Linked DNA regions of Homo sapiens: regions 1, 2, 3, 5, 6 and 7 are each linked to region 4. The links are contacts of gene promoters, found by promoter capture Hi-C in blood cells and fetal thymus (Javierre and others, 2016). All regions are on one chromosome and are shown on one strand. The core of a region is centred on a gene start or on the middle of the fragment in contact, and the rest is flanking DNA. Distances in the headings are between cores, read along the strand shown.

Region 1 (2,700 bases), core at 187-2,686, 320 kb before region 4:
CAACTCTTTCTGATGAAGTAACTAAAGCTATTTATATATTTCATAGTTGGACACTTTATACTACTTCGAGTTTTTTTTTTAATCTGAGTTCCTTAATTTTGTTTTTTTTTTTTGAGACGGAGTCTCGCTCTGTCGCCCAGGCTGGAGTGCAGTGGCGTGATCTCGGCTCACTGCAAGCTCCGCCTCCCGGGTTCAAACAATTCTCCTGCCTCACTCAGCCTCCCTAGTAGCTGGAATTACAGATGTGCACTGCCACGCCCAGCTAATTTCTTTTTCTTTCTTTCTTTTTTTTTGAGACAAGGTCTTGCTTGGTCGCCCAGGCTGGAGTGCAGCGGCGTGCTCTCGGCTCACTGCAACTTCCGCCTCCCGGGTACAAGCGATTCTCCTGCCTCAGCCTCCCGAGTAGCTGGGATTACAGGCGCCCGCCACCATGCCCGGCTAAATTTTGTGTTTTTAGTAGGCACGGGGTTTCACCATGTTGGCCAGGCTGGTCACAAACTGCTGACCTCAAGTGATCCGCCGCCTTGGCCTCCCGAAGTGCTGGGATTACAGGCTTGAACCAGCGTGCCTGGCGCAGGTTTTTTTTTTTTTTTTTGAGACGGAGTCTCGCTCTGTCTCCCAGGCTGGAGTGCAGTGGCACAATCTCGGCTCTCTGCAAGCTCTGCCTCCCGGGTTCATGCCATTCTCCTGCCTCAGCCTCCCGAGTAGCTGGGACTGCAGGCGCCCGCTACCACGCCCAGCTAATTTTTTGTATTTTTAGTAGAGACGGGGTTTCACCGTGTTACCCAGGATGGTCTCGATCTCCTGACCTCGTGATCCACCCGCCTTGGCCTCCCAAAGTGCTGGGATTATAGGCATGAGCCACTGCGCCGGGCCCCAAGTTTTGTATTTTTAGTAGAGACGGGGTTTCGCCATGTTGGCCAGGCTGGTCTCGAATTTCTCACCTCAAGTGATCCGCCCGCTTCGGCCTCCCAAAGTGCTGGGATTACAGGCTACCGGTGTCTGGCCTCAGTTCCTTAATTTTTAAAGTTTTATTCTTCCACCTTTTAAATGAAGTTTAATTTGGGATGCAATGACTGCAGCTCACCTCATCTGAAATAGAGTGGTTTGCAGACAATAATAGAAGAGAGTGGTTTGCAGACAGTAATAAAAGAGAGTGGTTTGCAGACATTTAAGACTTTAGGGATTGGATACTATTGCTTTTTTAAAAATTGCCTTTTTGAAAATAGAATATATTAATCTTTTATGTTTTTCTAGGGCTTCATTTTTTTTCTTATTTTTAAGACGAGGTTGTGCTCCCTCACCCATGCTGGAGTGCAGTGGTGTGATCATGGCTCACTGAAGCCTTGACCACTCAGGCTCCGGCAGTCCTCCCACCACAGCCTCCCGAGTAGCTGGGACCACAGGCGTGCACCATCATGCCCGGCTAATATTTTTTATTGTTATTGTTATTTGTAGAGAAGAGGTCTTGCTATGTTGCCCAGGCTGGTCTTGAACTCCTGAGCTTAAGCTATCTGCCCATCTCTGCCTCCCAAAGTGCTGGGAATATAGGCGTGAGCTACTGTGCCAGGCCTAGGCTTCATGTTAAAAAAAAATACTTTTAGAATTAATAAATTGTGTTTTCTTTGGGGTTAGAGAGGGTAGAATATGCCTCTGAATACCCTATTGTTCAGGAATAGCCATTCCATAACAACCTCAAGAAATGTTTGTGAAAGATATGTGAGTGATGGTGCCTGTGATTGCATGTGATAGTTTTGCAAGGCCTTTGACTAAAGCAGGAAATGCTGAATTGATCACCTGGTCTTTTGAATAGTGATTGGTTTTCTGCTAGTATGTTTAGATGTAGTCAGCCGGTTTCTCAGTATTGAAGTAGATCCTGTTGTAACTGTCATTCTCTGGTTGTATTAAAACATGATCGGAATAAAAATAACAAATACTGTATTTTCCTCCTCTCTTAGATTCATGCCCGAAACCAAAATGAAATAATTTTTGGGCTGAATGATGGATACTATGGTGCTCCATTTGAACATAAGGTAAGAAGATCCTTCTAATGTTATGAATTTTGTTTAGTGCAGGTGTGCCTTGCAGGTGTACAGGGTAGATATAATCCTGAAAACTCTGTGTAAATAGAATCATGCTTTAAATTTGTTGCTTAGTGTGGCTTAAGGTGGATGCTTTTTAATGGGAAAACTCATTCTGTAAGGCACATAACCATCCAGTCCATCTTTTCTAAATCCAGATTATATTAATTTTTCTACAGGAAATCTGGAGCTAGCTGTTTTCTCTTATTCTACATAACTCTTTGGGGGTTAAGAAAGGATGGTGAATTTTGATTAAATGCAATACAGTTTTATGAAATGTTTCAGATATCTTTTATAACTTTCAATACATTTAAGAAACTATGAATCGGTTGTTTTATAGTCAGCATTATCTCTACATCTAAAAGTTATTAGAGAAAGGAAAGGGAAGCGAATTCACATTTACCAAGTACCTACTATCTATGGTACTGTGCCAGGTGATTCTTGTCCTTTTCCTCACTTAATACTAGCCAAAACCAATGTGGTTTGTTTTGTCCTCTCCATTTTATAGTTAAGGAAAAAAGTTGTTTGAGATGAGCTTCGTAGGTTCACCCATCTAGAAAGTAGCTGAGCTGAAATTTCAGGTTGCCTGCCTCTAAAGCCTGTGCTTTTTCTATTCTAC
Region 2 (2,700 bases), core at 90-2,589, 320 kb after region 4:
AACCCTTTGTAATATGGTTTGCAATTTCAAAGAACTTGATATGTAAGAGGGGATGCTTTGTATTCTAGGCCCTGTGGTCACAAAGATCCAAGAGTCATGTATGATTCATAGCTGTTAGATATCTCTGATAACAACCGTTTGACACAGGCAGCTCTAGTAAAACAAGCAAATCAACGTATAAGACCGTTTTCTGGGCTGGGTGTGGAGGCTTATGCCTGTAATCCCAGCAATTTGGGAAGGCAAGGCAGGTGGATCACTTGAGCCCAAGAGTTTGAGACCAGCCTGAGCAACATGGTGAAACTCCGTATCTACAAAATTACAAAAATTAGCGTGAAGGTGTGCACCTATAGTCCCAGCTACTTGGGAGGCTGAGGTGGAGGATCACTTGAGCCTGGGAGGCAGAGGTTGCAGTGAGCTGAGATCTTGCCACTGTACTCCAGCCTGGGTGACAGAGCAAGACTCTGCCACTGCCACCCCCGCCAAAGACCACATAGGCACAATCACCTCTACTCACCACTTGCTCACCTATGCATGCCCACAACACACATCAGAAGAGCTTTTTTGAAAAACAGGCTGCTAGTTGGTTTTGTTTGGCTTGAATGGGTCATACTTGGCCAGGGTCCATTGAGCTATTTAATAGATAGGTGTGGTCACTTGCAAACTAGTGGCTCTTGGCAAATGAACTAGAGCTCTTTCCAGAGATGGTGCTGGGAAGAGTATGCATGTGTTGAAATAAGTAATAACACCATTGGCAGATGCTTCATGTTTCCCTTAAGTAATTACAGCAGATAGTTAAAATTGTGATTTTTGTAATTATATTTAGCTCTGAATTCACAATGATTGCTTTTTAGCCAGCTCACGTGGGTGCTTTGTTTTTACTGGCTGCTAAGTTTAGATAGGCACACGTTTAGATGATGCTGGCTAAAAATTAAGAAAAACTGATGAGGTGAAAATTCTCAAATCTTTTCATTTCCATCTTAAGTTTATGGATTTTAATTTTAAAAATTTTAATAATTTAGTAAAGTCACTGTATTTGAACTTAATTTAGTTAAGTTCATGTAAAAAGATGTTGATTTCATGAGTGACCAGAAAATGGTACTTAAGAATAAAGTAGATGAAAGTATAGAAAATGATGAAAAGTTAATGGATATAAGCTATCTAGTTAATAGACTAAAAGGATATTAGTAATATATGAATAGTAAAACATAGGAAGCACTCTGAGTTTTCCCTTCCTTTTTTTCTATATGTAACCTTATATATTATTAACAATATATAACATTCTTTCCTCATGGCATATGTTCATCAAATTTTTCCTATATATAACCTTAGAAAGAATGTTAATACCTCTGCTGATTTTGCTTGCCCATACTTTTTCATGTAGACATTCTACTATATATCCTTATAATTTCATATATGTAGAACTTAGGGGATGTATTTTATGTGTGTGCATTTAGCTACTGGTATATTGCACAGTAATTTTCTAATTACACAAATACTTATTTCAGATAAATTAGAAAATAAATATGTATGTGGGGGTTAAGACTTATAATCCCAATTCTTAGAGACAAGCATTAGCAGTGTACTATACCTTCTTCCAGAATTTTCTGACTATTATAATATATGTATTCCATTAATGGGATAGTGTAATAAGTATTTTTGCATGTGGTAATTTTTTAAAATTCGCTCATCAGAGAATAATTAATTCCTTCTTTGGGTAGAAAGTTGGTCAGATGACTTTCTATATCATTTCAACCAAGTCTACGATTTTTGATTTCCTGGAAACATTATACTTTGTTACATAATCTACAGCCCTTTTTTCATCATCCTGGTAAAACCTTACTGATTTTTCAGTGAGAGGACTTTATCATTTATATGCATATAAATCTCTTATATAATCATTGACTTCAATTTAGGGAGAAAAGACTATTCAGACAGTGCCAACAGGAGCAAAGCCAGCTATCCTTACTGCTACAAGACCCATCACCAAAATGATTGTAACGCAGCCAAAAGGAATAGGTTCTACAGTTCAACCAGCAGCTAAAATCATCCCAACAAAAATTGTTTATGGGCAGCAAGGGAAAACGCAGGTATGCTATAAGATATGATGATTTTTCTTGGCTCTTAAATATTTTCAATTCTTATAATTCCCGGGTAGAAATTTGAAGGAAAAGATCAGCAATCTTTAAGAAATCAGATTGTTAAAAGTTATGTTTGAATGTGTTAATTATTCAAGTATTGTCAAAACTTCATTTATCTTTTCAGTACTTTCTTAAAGATACCTAAATGTGTATGTTGTGCTATCAGCAAAGATTATGGGGAAATAATTACCTAGGAATACAATTTGCTGAAGGTGTATTTTGTGATTTGAGGGGGGTGGTTGAGGGAGGATCATAGTCATTCAGAATCACTCAAAGAAAAATATTTACTTTTTATAAGCTACCATGGCCTTCAAAAGCATTTTATTTACTTATAAAATTAGCTTTGCTTGAACCCTTGAACAATAGATAAGCTAGAGTTGTATTTATTTTTTAACCAATAGAAGATAAGGGAACTTTTCTGAAAATTTGCCTTGGAATTTGAGGCTCAGGATCTAATCATATGTTGCTAGGCTACTGTTTATTTTGTAGGTATTTTGCTTTTCTGAGAATATCGAGGGAAGCACTATTAGTTTCGGTTGAGAAATGCCATCCTAGAATTTTT
Region 3 (2,700 bases), core at 41-2,540, 300 kb before region 4:
TACATTTTGTAGTTTTAATGAAGTTAAGGACAGTCTTGTGTTGTTGCAGCTAAAAACTCTCAAAATATATAGTAACATGTTTTAAAACGTGACTCATCCAATGAACTAGTACAGGGATAAGCAAACTGTAGTCCAGCACATATTTTTGTATAGCTTGCGACTAAGAATGATTTTACATTTTTAAAGAATTTTAAAGAAAAAATAAGACTATGTGACAGAAATGACATGTGGCCTGCAAAGCCTAAAACATTTACTATGTGGCCCTTTATGGAAAAAGTTTGCTGACCACTCATCTAGAAATACACCTGACTTGCCTGGAATTACTCCTGCTCATTGGATATGTTAAATTATCTATTTCCCTGAGCAGTTTAATAGGCACTCACCCAGACTTGTTACTATTCTGTTCCTTGAAGAATTGTTAGGCCTGACTTCAGAAGAATTTTGAGTGACATGTAAATCTCTTCTGGGCTCTTTGGCACTTGGCAGTATCTCACACAGATAACCAGATACAAATGAGCCGTTTCTTTCCATTATAATCCTTCATCAGAAGTCTGTTGGGATCGAACATCTGGTGAAGTTAGATGTCATTCAGAACAAGGCTCTTAGCATATTTCAAGAATGTTAATTGCTAAGTGATGGCTGAAACAGGAGGGCTTAATAATGTCCTTAAATTGCCTTAAATGTACATGGACTCAGAATTTTTAGAATTGGAAAAGGTCCTAGAGATCATCAAGTATAGCCTGGTTCTTAAGAACACGGGCTGTGGAGCCAGACTGCATGGCTCTTCTCTTTAATCCTCTTTGTGTCTCAGTTTCCACACCTTTAAAGTGGGGATATTAATAGCACCTGTTTCACAGGGGTTTGTGAGTATTAAATGTGTTAACATTTAACATATTAACAGCTAACGTTGACATGTAAAATACAATACTGCCTGCCACACTGTAAATGCATGTAAACATTACTTTTTATATTGCTGTTATTTTTTATTACTGTTTTTATTAGTAGTAGTTGCATCTCATTTTATAATTAAAGAAACTGAGGCCTAGGAGAGTTAAATTATTTTCCTTACTTATGCGATAGGCAGAGTAGATTAAAACCCAGGATTCTAGCTTTCAGTTGAATGTTCTTTCCCTGTTATAAAGTGTGGCTTTTAGTTGTATGTCGGTGGGTGTGGATAAATTTTTTATAGTAAGAAAAAATATTTGGCAGCTTTTTCCGTAAAATAAGAAAAGCTAAGTAGAACATCATTAATTATTTCTCCTGAGAATCTTAAATCTACTTCTCAAGTCTTCTATTATTTGGATTTTGTTGCTGATTTATAAGACTGTCTCCTCTGTCCTTTTTCTCCTCATCTCCTCTTAAAATGTATTGATTATTTCTTAGCATCCATTTTTTAAAATTGAAGTGAAATTAATGTAACATAAATTAACTGTTTTGAAGTGTGCAATTCAGTGGCTCTGGGTACATTCACAGTGTTGTGTACCACCATCTCTGTCAAGTTGCAAAACATTTTCATAATCCCCAAATTAAACTTTGTACCTATGAAGTGCTCACTTTCTATTTTGCTGTCCTCCAAACCCCTGGCAAACACCAGTTTGTTTTCCATCTCTATGGATTTACCTATTTTGGGTATTTCATACAAATTGAATTATGTAGTATGTGACCTTTTGTTCTGGCTTTTTTCACTTAGTGTAATGTTTTGGTGTTGCATCTACATGTAGGAAGGAATGTACTTCATTCCTTTTTAGGGCTGAGTAATATTCTATTGCATGTGTACACACACAGAGACACACACACACACATTTTGTTTATTCATGTCTGTTGATAGACATTTGTGTTGTTTCTCTTTTTTTGACTGTTGTGAATAGTGCTGCTGTGAACATTTGTGTACAACTGTTTGTTTGAGTCCCTGTTTTCAGTCTTTTGGGTATGTACCTAGGAGTGAAATTGCTGGGTCATATTATAATTCTATGATTACCTTTTTGAGGAACTGCTAAACTTTTTTTTTTTTACCGTGGCTGACCAATACATTCCTAATAGCAATATGTGAGGGTTCTCATTTCTCCACATCCTCACTATCTTCTGTTTGTTTGTTATGCTATTTGTATGTCTTTATTTGGAGAAATGTCTCTTGCAGTTCTTTGCCCATTTTAAAATTGAGTTGTCTTTTTGCTGTTGAATGTATGAGTTCTTTATATCATCTGGAAATTAGACCTCTGTCAGATATACAATTTGTAAATATTTTCTCCCATTCTGTTGGGTTCTTTTTCTACTTAATTGATAGTGTCCTTTGATGCACAAAAGTTTTTGATTTTAATGAAGTATAATTTACTGATTTTTTTGTACTAATGCTTTTTATATCATATCTAAGAATAGATTGGTAAATCCAAGGTTATATAAACCCCTGTGTTTTCTTCTAATAGTTCTATAGGTTTTTTTTAGCTTTATAGTGGGTTTTTTTGTTTGTTTGTTTGTTTGGAGATAGAGTCTCACTCTGTTGCCCAGGCTGGAGTGCAGTGGCGTGATCTCAGCTCACTTCAATCTCTGCCTCCTGGGTTCAAGTGATTCTCCTGCCTCCAGCCTCCCGAGTAGCTGGGATTACAAGCGCGTGCCATCATGCCTGGCTAATTTTTGTATTTTTAGGAGGTACCAGGTTTTACCATGTTAGCTAGGCTGGTCTCGAACTCCTGACCTCAAGTG
Region 4 (2,700 bases), core at 142-2,641:
CTTCTTGTAAACAAGAAAGGCAGGAAGACGGGGTTCCCTCCTCGAATCGTCAATTAATCAATAACTTGGCCTGAGAAGGGGCAGGGCCAGTGACCTCCAGACTGTTTGCTGGCGGCGCAGCCACTATCACCCTGTCTTCCAACTAATTCACAAACCCTTTGCAGCGCCCTCCCCAGCCCCCACAACCTGCCCCCTGCTGTCTTATCTGCAGGCTCCCTGCCCTGGCCCCAGATTCCAGACCCTTGTCCTGTCCTGGACTTTCCCTCTCAGGGAGCCCCTCTGCCCACAGCGTCCTCTCCATTGCCCGAACCAGCCAACTCCCAGCAGCGCTTCAGTCACCAGAGGCACAGCCTCGGAAAAGCTTCCCGGTGTCTCACATCTGTGTCCCCACCAGGTGGGCTTCCTTCCTCTAGGCCTCCAGATTCCCGCTCTGGTTTCTCCTCGGGCACTTGGACACTTGTGGAGTTATTTACAGCCTGGGCTTATCTCTCTCAACTTAGAGCGCAGCTCCTCCGGGAAGGGGCTGGTGTTTACTCCTCTCTTCACCACCCCCAGCCCCCTGAGCAGGCACTCCCTTCAGCTCGGCACCAAGCCTCTCTCTCCCTCCTACCCCTGCGTGAATAATTTCTATCTAAAGGAATGCCCTGCACATGTGCACAGTGGCATCTGACAGCTTCTGAGGTCCTTTCAGGAGCCTCTTCTCATCTGATTTGAGGGAGGTGGGGAGTCTCACCCTCCCGTGACAGAGGAGGACAAGGAGGCCCCAAGAAGTAGAGTGACACTTTCCCAAGGTCGCCCAGGTGGAGGGGTCAGGAGTGTCTCAGCGGAACTCCCGCTAGGGTCAAGGAGACTGACGGACAAGGACCGCTCCTGGGCTGGCCGCTCTGGATTGCGCCCCCTGAACAGAATGTCTTTTTCCATCTGCCCCTGCGGAGGTGGCCAGAAACTCCGTGGCCCTTGCGCCACCGTCAGCTGCACAGGACCAGGCGCTTCCATTGTGGTCCACGCCCGTCTCACTCCCTTTTCGCAAGCCTGCGGGAGGCAGGGACATTTTACAGAGGAGGAAACAGAGGCTGAGGGATGACTTGCCCACGACCGCCAAGCCAGCTTAGGCTCCCGGGTCTTGGTGCGCTCGCCCCATCCAGGGGACCCCAAAACGCCCTCCGCCGCCCCAGTCCCTGGCCTGTGCGCGTGGACGCGGGGTCCCTACTCACAGCCACTTGATGCCATAGCACACGCCGGTCTGGAGCGCCAGGGCGAAGAGCAGCGCCTCGCAGACCTGCGGCCGCGCCCTCATCGTCGCGCGGCGGGCGCGCCCGGGGTCACACCCAGGAGGAGCCGCGCCGAAGTCCTCCGCCTGCACGGCCGCCGCTGGTCCTGCACGCCGCCTGCAGCCGGGGAGAGCGGAGGCGGCGGGTTAAGGCGGCGCGCGGGCGGGGGAGGCGTTTTATTCAAATTACAAAGGAGGGGTCGGGGCCCGGGGAGGCCGAGCGCGGCGGGCGTCCCCTCCCGCTCCGCCCGGCCGGGGGACGCGTCCCGCGCCTGGCTCGAATTAGGCGCGGCCGAAGGCGTGTCTCCCAGCGTGGCCCCGGGCCCCAACGCGCCTTCGAGCCCCTCTGGCCGGGGCAGCCGGAAGGAGGGACAGGAGGCGGCAGAACCGGAGACCCAGGAGAGACCGGGCAGACACAGCGAGAGGGAGAAGGACGCTCAGAGGACAAGGCTGAGAGCCACGGAGACAGAGGGGGAAACCCGGACAGACGCAACCTGGGACGGAAAGGAGAGGAATGAGGAATCAGGAGTCCAGGCGAGGCAGCAGAGTCGAGGACCCGGAGCTGGGGCTTATCCCTGCAATATTGAGCATTAGTTAATAGGGCCTCGGCAATTCTCCTTCCCAAACGTGTTTCAGTTTACCTCCTCAGTAAGCTGGGGCAATTCGGGCACAATTCCGCTTTTATAAAGAACGTTCCCTGGCCGGGCAGGGTGGCTCACGCCTGTAATCCCAGCACTTTGGGAGGTCGAGGCGGGCGGGTCACCTGAGGTCAGGAGCTCGAGACCAGCCTGCCCAACATGGCAAAACCCCGTCTCTACTACGAATACAAAAAATTAGCCGGGCGTGGTGGCGGGCGCCTGTAATCCCAGCTACTCGGGAGGCTGAGGCAGGAGAACCGCTTGAACCCGGGAGGCGGAGGTTGCAGCGAGCGGAGATTGCGCCACTGCACTCTAGCCTGGGCGACAAGAGCGAAACTCCGTCTCAAACAAACAGACAAACAAAAAAAGTTCCCTAACACGATCGCATCTGCTCCTCCCAGCACCCCGTGAGATAGGCACTATCGCTGCCTCATCTCACAGATGAGGAAACTGAGGCACAGAGGTGGGGTTCAGCTAGGGAGCGGCAAGCCGGGTGTCCGGCGAAATCAGGAAATGGGGCTTGCTCGGGGCCCTGCTTTCTCGGTGTGGGAAGGGGAGGATGGGAAACGGGATGGTAGGGCTCTTTGTACAGTGAGGATTCCGAGTCTCCAAGTCCGTCTTTAGCCGCTCCACTTTGGAGGGTGGGAGTGGAAGCATGCGGGCTGGGACTGGGCAGCCCCGCCTTAGCGAAGCGGGGAAGCTCGCGGGGCTGGCGCGGTGTTGCCTCTGGCCTCCAGGCGGCGCCCTCGGGCCGCGGAGGAGAGGCTGCCCCGCCCGCCCGCAGCCCGCGGA
Region 5 (2,700 bases), core at 100-2,599, 300 kb after region 4:
CATTTTTTTTTCTTTTTCTTTTTCTTTTTCTTTTTTTTTTTTTTCTTTTTTTTGAGACATAGTCTGTCAGCCAGGCTGGAATGCAGTGACACAATCATAGTTCACTGCAGCCTCAACCTCCTGGCTCAAGCAGTCCTCCCACCTCAGCCTCCCAAGTAGCTGAGACTACAGGCATGAGCCATAGCATGCCTGGCTAATTTTTTTAAAAAAATTTTTGTAGAGACAGGGTCTCACCATGTTGCCCAGACTGGTCTCAAACTCCTGGGCTCAAACAATCCACCTGCCACAGCCTCCCAAAGTGCTGGGACTGCAGGCATGAGCCACCACACCCAGCCTAAAATTTATTTCTTAATAAGACCTGAAAGTTGAAATTATTCCTTGTTTCATGGCCTGCACAACGGATGTTATGTTAGCAGGCATGAAAACAATATTAATCTTGTATATCTCCATCAGAGCTCTTGGGTGACTAGGTGCATTGTCAGTGGGTAGTAATATTTTGAAAGGAATCTTTTTTTTTTTTTATGAGCAGTAGGTCTCAATAGTGGGCTTAAAACCTTCAGTAAACCATGCTGTGAACAGATGTGGTGTCATCCAGGCTTTGTTGTTTCATTTATAGAGCACAGGCAGAGTAGATTTAGCATCCTTTTTAAGGACCCTAGCATTTTGCGAATGGTAAATGAACATCAGCTTCAACTTAAACTCAGCAACTGCATTAGTCCCTAACAAGAGAGTCAGTCTGTTCTTTGAAGCTTTGAAGCCAGGCATTGACTTCTTTATCTATGAAAGTCCTAGATGGCATCTTCTTCCAATAAAAGTCTATTTTGTCTACATTGAAAATCTGGTGTTTAGTGTAGCCACCTTCATCAATGATCTTAGGTAGATCTACTGGATAACTTGCTACAGCTTCTCCGTCAGCACTTGCTGTTTTGTTTTGCACTTTGACATTCTGTAGATGGTTTCTTTCCTTAAACCGCATGAACCAACCTCTGCTAGCTTCCAACTTTTCTTCTGCAGATTCCTCACTCTCCTGGCCTTCATAGAAATGAAGTTTATTAACTGGCCTAATTTCAGTATCATTGTGTCTTTGGAAACAAGCAGGCCCAAGGAGAGGGAGAGAGATGGGAGAATGTCCAGTTCGTGAAGCAGTCAGAGCACACACAACATTTATTGATTAAGTACATCATCTTACACGAGCATGGTTTGTGGTGGCCCAAAACAATTATAATAGTAACATCAAAGATCACTGATCACCGATTAAAGTAACAGATATAATAATAAAAAAAAACTTTGAATTATTGTGAGAATCATCAAAATGTGACACAGACATAATGTGAGCGCACACTGTTGGAAAAATGGTGCCTATAGACTTACTCGACGTGGGGTTGCCAGAACCTTCAATTTGTAAAAAACACTTTGGGAGGCCAAGGAGTGCAGATCACCGGAGGTCAGGAGTTCGAGACCAGCCTGGCCAACATGATGAAACCCTGTCTCTACTAAAAATACAAAAATAAACCAGGTGTGTTGGTGGGTGCCTATAATCCCGCTACTCGGGAGGCTGAGGCAGGGAGAATTGCTTGAACCCAGGAAGTGGAGGTTGCAGTGAACCAAGATTGCACCACTGCACTCCAGCCTGGGTAACAGAGCGAGACTCCGTCTCAAAAAAACAAAAAACAAAAACAAACAGACAAACAAAAAAACACACTAGTACTGAGAAGCACAATAAAGCAAAGTGTAATAAAACAAGGTATACCTGTATCACTGTAGAATGAAGAAGCAATTTAATTTTATGTACTGACTATATTAAAAAGATCTCTAAGATACATTGTTAAAGGTGGGGGGGAAAGCAAGGTGCATGTGTTATGTTTTACAAGTGTGTAAAGAGGGGAGGTATAAGAATCCATATTTAAATTTTCTTGTATTTGTGGAGACTCTGACAATATATAAGAAACTAAGCTTTTGTTAATGGCAAGGGAGAACTAGACAGAGGACAAGGAAAGAGGACAAGTTATTCACTCTAACTTTTTATACTGGTCAGTTTTTAATGAATGCTTTCTCTATTCAAAAAAATAAAATATAGACCAGGTGCAGTGGCTCATGCCTATAATCTCAGTGCTTTGGGATTCTGAGATGGGAGAATTGCTTTAGCTCAGGAGTTCAAGGTTACAGTCATCATGCCACCGCACTTCAGCCTGGGTGACAGAACAAGACGCTGTCTCTAATAAAAAAATTAATAAACTGGCTGTGTTTGGTGGCTCATGCCTGTAATCCCAGATCTTTGGGAGGCCAAGGCAGGGGGACTGCTTGAAGCCAGAGTTCAAGATCACCCTGGACTATAAAGCAAGACCCTATCTCTACAAAAATAGTAAAATTAGCTGAGTGTGGTGGCATATGCTTGTATTCCCAGCTACTCTGAAGGTTGGGGCAAGAGGATTGCTTGAGCCTAGAAGATCAAGGCAGTGAGCCATGATCACACCATTGCACTCTACCTTGGGTGACACAGCAAGACCTTGCCTAAAATTAATTAATATAGTATAATGTAATAATTGATTCACAAATAAAAATGCCATTGATACAGACCTTAGAAACTGGAACCTTGCAGAAATAGGAAGTATCTAGGGTGGGGTAAGTGACAGACTTCTCTGACAGACCCCTGCTTTACGCACTGAGTGCTCACAGAGTCGGGGTAAGGGGTTGGGGAGC
Region 6 (2,700 bases), core at 60-2,559, 490 kb before region 4:
CCAAGAAAAAACACACTTGGTCAAACTTCAGGAAGTCATCCTAGCCCTGGCTGTCCTGGCTAACAAATGGTCTCATCTTCACATTCATTATTAATTATTGGGCCATTACCTAAAAATTGTTCCCATCAAGGTAAAAAGCAAATAAACCCCGGGAATCTCTTATTTCACAGACATCAAATTATAAATCAAAATCACATAACTCCATGTTGCAAGGCCTTGCTAGTTCACTGCTTGTTTCTTTCAGAGTTAGAGACATTACTAATAGCTATGAAGGCACACATTTCACTCCTTAGAATACACCACTATGCTGGGCTTCCAGAGGAGGCATCCAATATAAACTTCATGTCCCTGATAGGTCCCAATGGTTGCTCTAATGATGTCCTCAAACAACTTCTTTTCAAATTCCAATACAATAAATACACTAAAGATCTTGAGTTTACCCCAGGTCTTAACCTATTCTTTATAAATTTCAATCTCTCCCCCATCCCTCAAGGGTTAGGGGCCAGATTAAAGATGCATATACTCCTGGGACTCATAACCATAGATTGTTCCTTAGATCAGGCAGCTAGCTGCCCCTCTGATAGGGGACCCATTTGAACCCAAGCTTCCACGCAAAACAAACCCTGTCAGGTGCAGCCGCACACTGTCCTGTTGTTGGTTGGTCTTATCACTACTGCCTTGCCTGCTTCACTGGTTACAATCAGAGGCCCAAAACCTTCAGCAGACCACCGTTTTAACCTCAGCAATTATGACAAGTGCTGAGGCCCACGTTAACTCGAGTAGGTCCCCATGAAAAGGACACACCTGTCCCACATCTCAGATGACATTACCTTTGCCTTATAATTCACCTCTGAAGGTGACATTGCCTCAGATGACACATCTGAACCCAAGACCTTGATGTTGGAGATAGCTTTGCCCCTGGTGCCACAGACGGCTTCACTTCTTACACTAAACCTCTACTCCAGTGATGCCCATGGACTGGCTCTGCTAACACACAAATGGACAGTGTGTAGTTTTGCTTTTCTTTCTGTACTGACTGCCTGCTTAGCTCCTGATCTTGGTATACTCCTTGCTCTCTGCTCAAAGGTACACTGCCACACAGCTCTATACCTCAACAAAACTCTAGCCTGGTGAAAGCCAATCTAGAAGCAATGGCACAACAGATAACAAGTATTTTATAACCTTACCCGGGTTCACAACAACCTTCCTACTTTGCCCTAGGTGAAGGGTTGCTCTATTCACTTGGCTCAACCCCACACAGTGGAGTGGATGCCTGTGAGTGGAGTTTAAGGTCACAGTGGTGCCTCCACATTGTTTGTGTGTTCAGTGATGCTCATCAAATGCCTTGCTCCATGCCTGGCCCACATTTCTCCAGTAGCCTTCAATGTCTCCACTATTTAAGCAGTAGTCGTCACCAAACACAAGGTCATATGCCCAGGCATCACAGGGTCAGTTGTAACAGGAACACACAGAAAAGGTTGCTGTCTAGTCATAGAAATAGACTGGCACACCCAAATGTCTCAAACGGGGGGCCAGAGTTCAGAACTTAGAGGCATCTCTCCAGCCCAGCCCAATGGGCTTTCTGCTTTGCCACTGATTCCTTTAAAGGGACAATTCAGGTATTTGCCTGCAAACTTTAAGTGACTTACACCCCATTCCCTTATATCTACCACTAGTTGTGGGGTTTCTCTCTCTCTCTCTCTGCCTGACTTTGCATTCATGACCCCAGGATGGAGCACTGCCTTCGTGACTCACGGCACCCTCCCTGTCCAGGATTCATAAGTAATAAGTTAGTGAACATATTTTTTATTGTGGGGTGTATTAAATTTGCACCCTCTATCTGAAGAACCAGAGACTACCCCGATGGCTCCCAGAGTCCAAGTAATGGTCAGGCAGACATAAATTGGACACAGATCTGATAAGAACCATCAGGGCATCTGCCAATGTATTTTCCTTTTCTTTTTAACTTTTTTTACACAACCTTTTCTGAATCCAGAGCATCTGCCACTATAAACAAGCTTCCTGTGTGAGGGACTCCCTGGTTGTGGGTCGGACAACTAGGCATTAGGCTGTCCCCCAGGTAAAGGGAGTATCCTATGGAAAACATACTGTAAAACCCCACCCCGCTCAGGCAGTGTTGCTAGCTGCTCCGGTACCGGAACTCTAATTTAGCTGAGGGCTCTTAAAAACAGTGTGGTGCTGGCAGAGATAGATAAGAGGACAAACAGGAGAGAATAAAAGCCCATACACGGACCACGCATCCGTAGAACTGTCTCACATGACAGAGGTGGCATAACATATCGTGGGGAACGGAGGGAGTGTTCAACAAAGAGACTGAAAAAAAATGCTTATCCACATGTCAAAAGCTCAGATTGGAACCTAACTCATACTATCTAAACATCCAGATGAATTAGGACTTACATATAAAAAACAAAACTTCAAAATTTTTAATGAAATGTATAAGTAAGACAAGATTTCCTAGATCCAACCAAACAATGTGTATTTTATAAAAGACTGGAAAATATGACATATTGAAAAAATGTTTGTTCATCAAAGGACATCTTAAAAGACAAGCTAGGGCTGGGCGCGGTGGTTCACGCCTGTTATCCCAGCACTTTGGGAGGCTGAGGAGGGTGAATCACTTGAAGTCAGGAGATCAAGACCAGCCTGGCCAACATGGTGAAACCCCATCTCTACTAA
Region 7 (2,700 bases), core at 118-2,617, 470 kb after region 4:
AAGGTTATGGTTAACAGGATTATTAATCTTTCTTACTGTGAGTAATTTCAAGTCGGGAAGGGTATAGGCTGGGCCAGGCAGCTTTCTAATGCAGCTGTCATATTGCAAGCCATTCAATCCTTAACTACACCCAAGAAGGTAGATATTATTATTATTATTATTATTATTAGCAGCAGCTCCATTTTGCAGATGACACATGAGGAAATGCAGCAAGGATGAGTAATTAACTTAAGCTTGCACAGCCAGTACAGGTGAGTCCAGGCAGTGGGGCTCCAGCGCCTACCCACTGAATACTCGATCATTTCGTCACTTGAAGGAGCATTAATGAGCCCAAAGAGCAAATTATCTAAACATTCTGTGTGTAGTTGTGTTCCCCCTCCCATCTTAGGTGGGGTGAGGAGGGGACTGAGAAGGGCAGAACGGAGGAAGAGAAGCAACCTGGGTTTAGGAGAGAGACCCACCCGCATTCCCATCCTCGCTGCGCCACTCACTGCTGTGTAACTTTGGGCTGGTGGCCTCACCTCTGAACCCAGTAGAGTGAGGGCAGCCATGGACAATGGACCACTAGGGCAGTTTGAAGGGTGAGTGCGTTTGTATTAAGCTGTTCCTCACCAGTCAATGGCACAGCTTGCGGTGCTCCCTGCCCCGGTCAGCATTTGAGGGTTTTGGCAGCAGCTATGGTCTTTGTGCTGGTTTGTTTCAGGGAGAGAGAAGTGGTTTTCAAGCTTTCCCTGGCTGTGGTCAGGGGATGTAGGGAGGAAACCTGCCTAGAATGTAGCTGTGGCTGCCCCTCAGGGACAGTATGGGTAGGCAGCATGAGGGTACAGCGTTCCTCAGGGGGGCAGGTGGAAGCCCTCAAGGGGCAAGTGAGGGGGCGAAGGCCTGGGCACACCCAGTTGTCACTGGGACAGGGTCTTCTTAGGCACAGGTCACAGAGCCCCCATCTTGTCCTAGTCATGTTGCCAGCTTCCTCATGACCATAGGATCTTCCTAGAGTCCTTCAAGTATTATCCATTGAGGGGAAGCTGAGGCTCTACAGGGGCAAGGAGGAGGCAAGAGGGGGCTGCCCTCTCTGCTACATTGGATTTTCACCCCCTTCCCCTATGACATTTTTCCACCTGCTGATGAGAGCCACATGCACTCGCCCCACAGACATAGTGCACCTGCAACAACAGCCCAGCCACAGCCACACACACATCCTTCATATGCACCCTCAGAGGCAACATGAGATGCACAGGGCCACGACTCACGAAAGCAACAAGCATGCATCGACCTCATACACGAATTTCACGTAGGCACACACACGATTCACAAACATTCAGACATTTCAGAGACGCCCTCAAAAGTCACACAGTCACCACACATGGTTACATACATCCTGCACAAATCCAACTCTCAATTAAACACATGTGCAAAACACAACACAAACATGTACATTGAGCATACACCGTGTACACACACTATATCCATACATCCTACACGAACACCACACTCACAAACATACCAGACACATTGCACACAAACACAGCTCACATCCAGTATGTACAATAAAGACTTAAAATACCAAGGCTCCCCAAACCCAGTGCACACACAGCAGAGAGCACAGATAAGCCTCTCGTCTGTGTGCATGGACGTGCACACACGCACACACGTGAGCATGCCTGTACACACAGGCACAGGTGCACATGGTCATGGGAACTAGGCTGTCATCTCGCGTGGCTTGTGACTCTGATTTTTCTCAGAAGCAGACCACACATAAGTCAAGTGGCTTCCACTAGGGCTGGTTTCCTGAAGTGAAAAAGGAAAGGAGGGGAAAGGACATAGTTTGGGCTAAATTAGTCAGACAGACTCCTTTGGCCTCCCAGGAATCTCATAATTAATCCAGCTGGGATGCTGTGAGCTTCAGGCCCTGGGAGCTGGGCTGGGGCTTCAGAATGCAGAGTACTGCATCCTGTCTCCTGAGGGATGGATGCCAGGCCTTGTCCCCAAGCCAATCCCTCTGAAGGTCTGGAAGCTTAAAAAGGGGTTATGTGGCCTCAGGGCTGCCACTCCCTGACCTCTTCTAGGCTGTGTGACTTCAGCCTGCTTGCTGGTTTTTCTCTCCTGTGGTGCTGGGGTCAGGAGACCCGGATTTGAGGCCTGAACCTGACTCCCAAAACCAAACTTGCCTCTGCTGGCATCAGTGACCACCTGGCCTCCTGGTGGATGGGCTGTGCTTCCTGCTGGCAGAGGCAGCACCTGCCTCCTGGGGAACATTCTGGGCAAGCCCTCTTGTACACGCCCCTGTTTCACAAGCCCCTTCTGGGTCTTCCAGGTTCCCTTCAGCTGTGGCCCCCTCCTCTCATCTCCTCCTAGCCAGACCCACAAGGGAGCTACCTGCAAGAAAGCCACTCTTGCTGCCTCCATTGCCTCCACTCTCCACCTGTCTCCAGCCCCTCATTCCAGCAAGCACATCCATGGCAGAACTGCTGTGGCCGGACCGAGGGACAGTGTCCACGTCCCTTGGCTATGTTCTTCACAGCTTCCCCTCCTCCTTTAATGGCCTTCTTCCCGTGGCACCTTGGAACACCCCCTCCTGGCCCTCCTCTCTCCTCTCTTGCATCTCCTTCAGGATCCTGCTGCGGGCCCTTCTCTTCCTCCTCCACCTGATTTCTAAAGGTGGAAGCTCCCGGCTCTCACTCCCTCTTCGGCCTGGCGTTT

Evidence for each region. Contacts are between HindIII fragments. The CHiCAGO score rates a contact against its expected background, and 5 or more counts as called.
Region 1: a contact is called between a fragment that was not itself captured here and the fragment with the promoter of WNT11 in region 4, in 1 of 17 cell types (megakaryocytes). The highest score is 7.1, in megakaryocytes.
Region 2: a contact is called between a fragment that was not itself captured here and the fragment with the promoter of WNT11 in region 4, in 1 of 17 cell types (megakaryocytes). The highest score is 5.4, in megakaryocytes.
Region 3: a contact is called between a fragment that was not itself captured here and the fragment with the promoter of WNT11 in region 4, in 1 of 17 cell types (megakaryocytes). The highest score is 6.1, in megakaryocytes.
Region 5: a contact is called between a fragment that was not itself captured here and the fragment with the promoter of WNT11 in region 4, in 2 of 17 cell types (megakaryocytes and M2 macrophages). The highest score is 7.5, in megakaryocytes.
Region 6: a fragment that was not itself captured here is called in contact with the fragment with the promoter of WNT11 in region 4 in 1 of 17 cell types (endothelial precursors); the score reaches 5.2 in endothelial precursors.
Region 7: a contact is called between a fragment that was not itself captured here and the fragment with the promoter of WNT11 in region 4, in 1 of 17 cell types (fetal thymus). The highest score is 6.6, in fetal thymus.

The regions. Positions count from the first base shown.
Region 1 is chr11:75,886,871-75,889,570 of GRCh38, forward strand. It overlaps UVRAG (UV radiation resistance associated), which reads left to right. Exons shown (of 15, transcript NM_003369.4): 5 at 1,959-2,033. Among named protein-coding and RNA genes, the nearest start is that of UVRAG, 73 kb to the left of the region's middle. RefSeq lists an enhancer at 122-171. The HindIII fragment of the contact is 5,797 bases long and covers 1-2,700 here.
Region 2 is chr11:76,524,549-76,527,248 of GRCh38, forward strand. EMSY (EMSY transcriptional repressor, BRCA2 interacting) reads left to right here. Exons shown (of 22, transcript NM_001300942.2): 14 at 1,914-2,087. Among named protein-coding and RNA genes, the nearest start is that of EMSY, 81 kb to the left of the region's middle. The HindIII fragment of the contact is 2,918 bases long and covers 1-2,700 here.
Region 3 is chr11:75,903,887-75,906,586 of GRCh38, forward strand. The region is part of intron 5 of UVRAG (UV radiation resistance associated); the gene reads left to right. Among named protein-coding and RNA genes, the nearest start is that of UVRAG, 90 kb to the left of the region's middle. The HindIII fragment of the contact is 6,083 bases long and covers 1-2,700 here.
Region 4 is chr11:76,205,111-76,207,810 of GRCh38, forward strand. It overlaps WNT11 (Wnt family member 11), which reads right to left and starts at 1,392. Exons shown (of 5, transcript NM_004626.3): 1 at 1,215-1,392. The coding sequence starts at 1,297. RefSeq lists silencers at 1,305-1,544, 2,525-2,700 and an enhancer at 1,849-2,516. The HindIII fragment of the contact is 7,460 bases long and covers 360-2,700 here.
Region 5 is chr11:76,507,836-76,510,535 of GRCh38, forward strand. The region is part of intron 10 of EMSY (EMSY transcriptional repressor, BRCA2 interacting); the gene reads left to right. Among named protein-coding and RNA genes, the nearest start is that of EMSY, 64 kb to the left of the region's middle. The HindIII fragment of the contact is 1,204 bases long and covers 748-1,951 here.
Region 6 is chr11:75,712,218-75,714,917 of GRCh38, forward strand. All of the region lies in intron 1 of LOC105369392 (a long non-coding RNA gene), which reads right to left. Among named protein-coding and RNA genes, the nearest start is that of MOGAT2, 4.3 kb to the right of the region's middle. The HindIII fragment of the contact is 1,414 bases long and covers 603-2,016 here.
Region 7 is chr11:76,675,653-76,678,352 of GRCh38, forward strand. No RefSeq gene overlaps it. Among named protein-coding and RNA genes, the nearest start is that of LRRC32, 6.3 kb to the left of the region's middle. The HindIII fragment of the contact is 1,289 bases long and covers 724-2,012 here.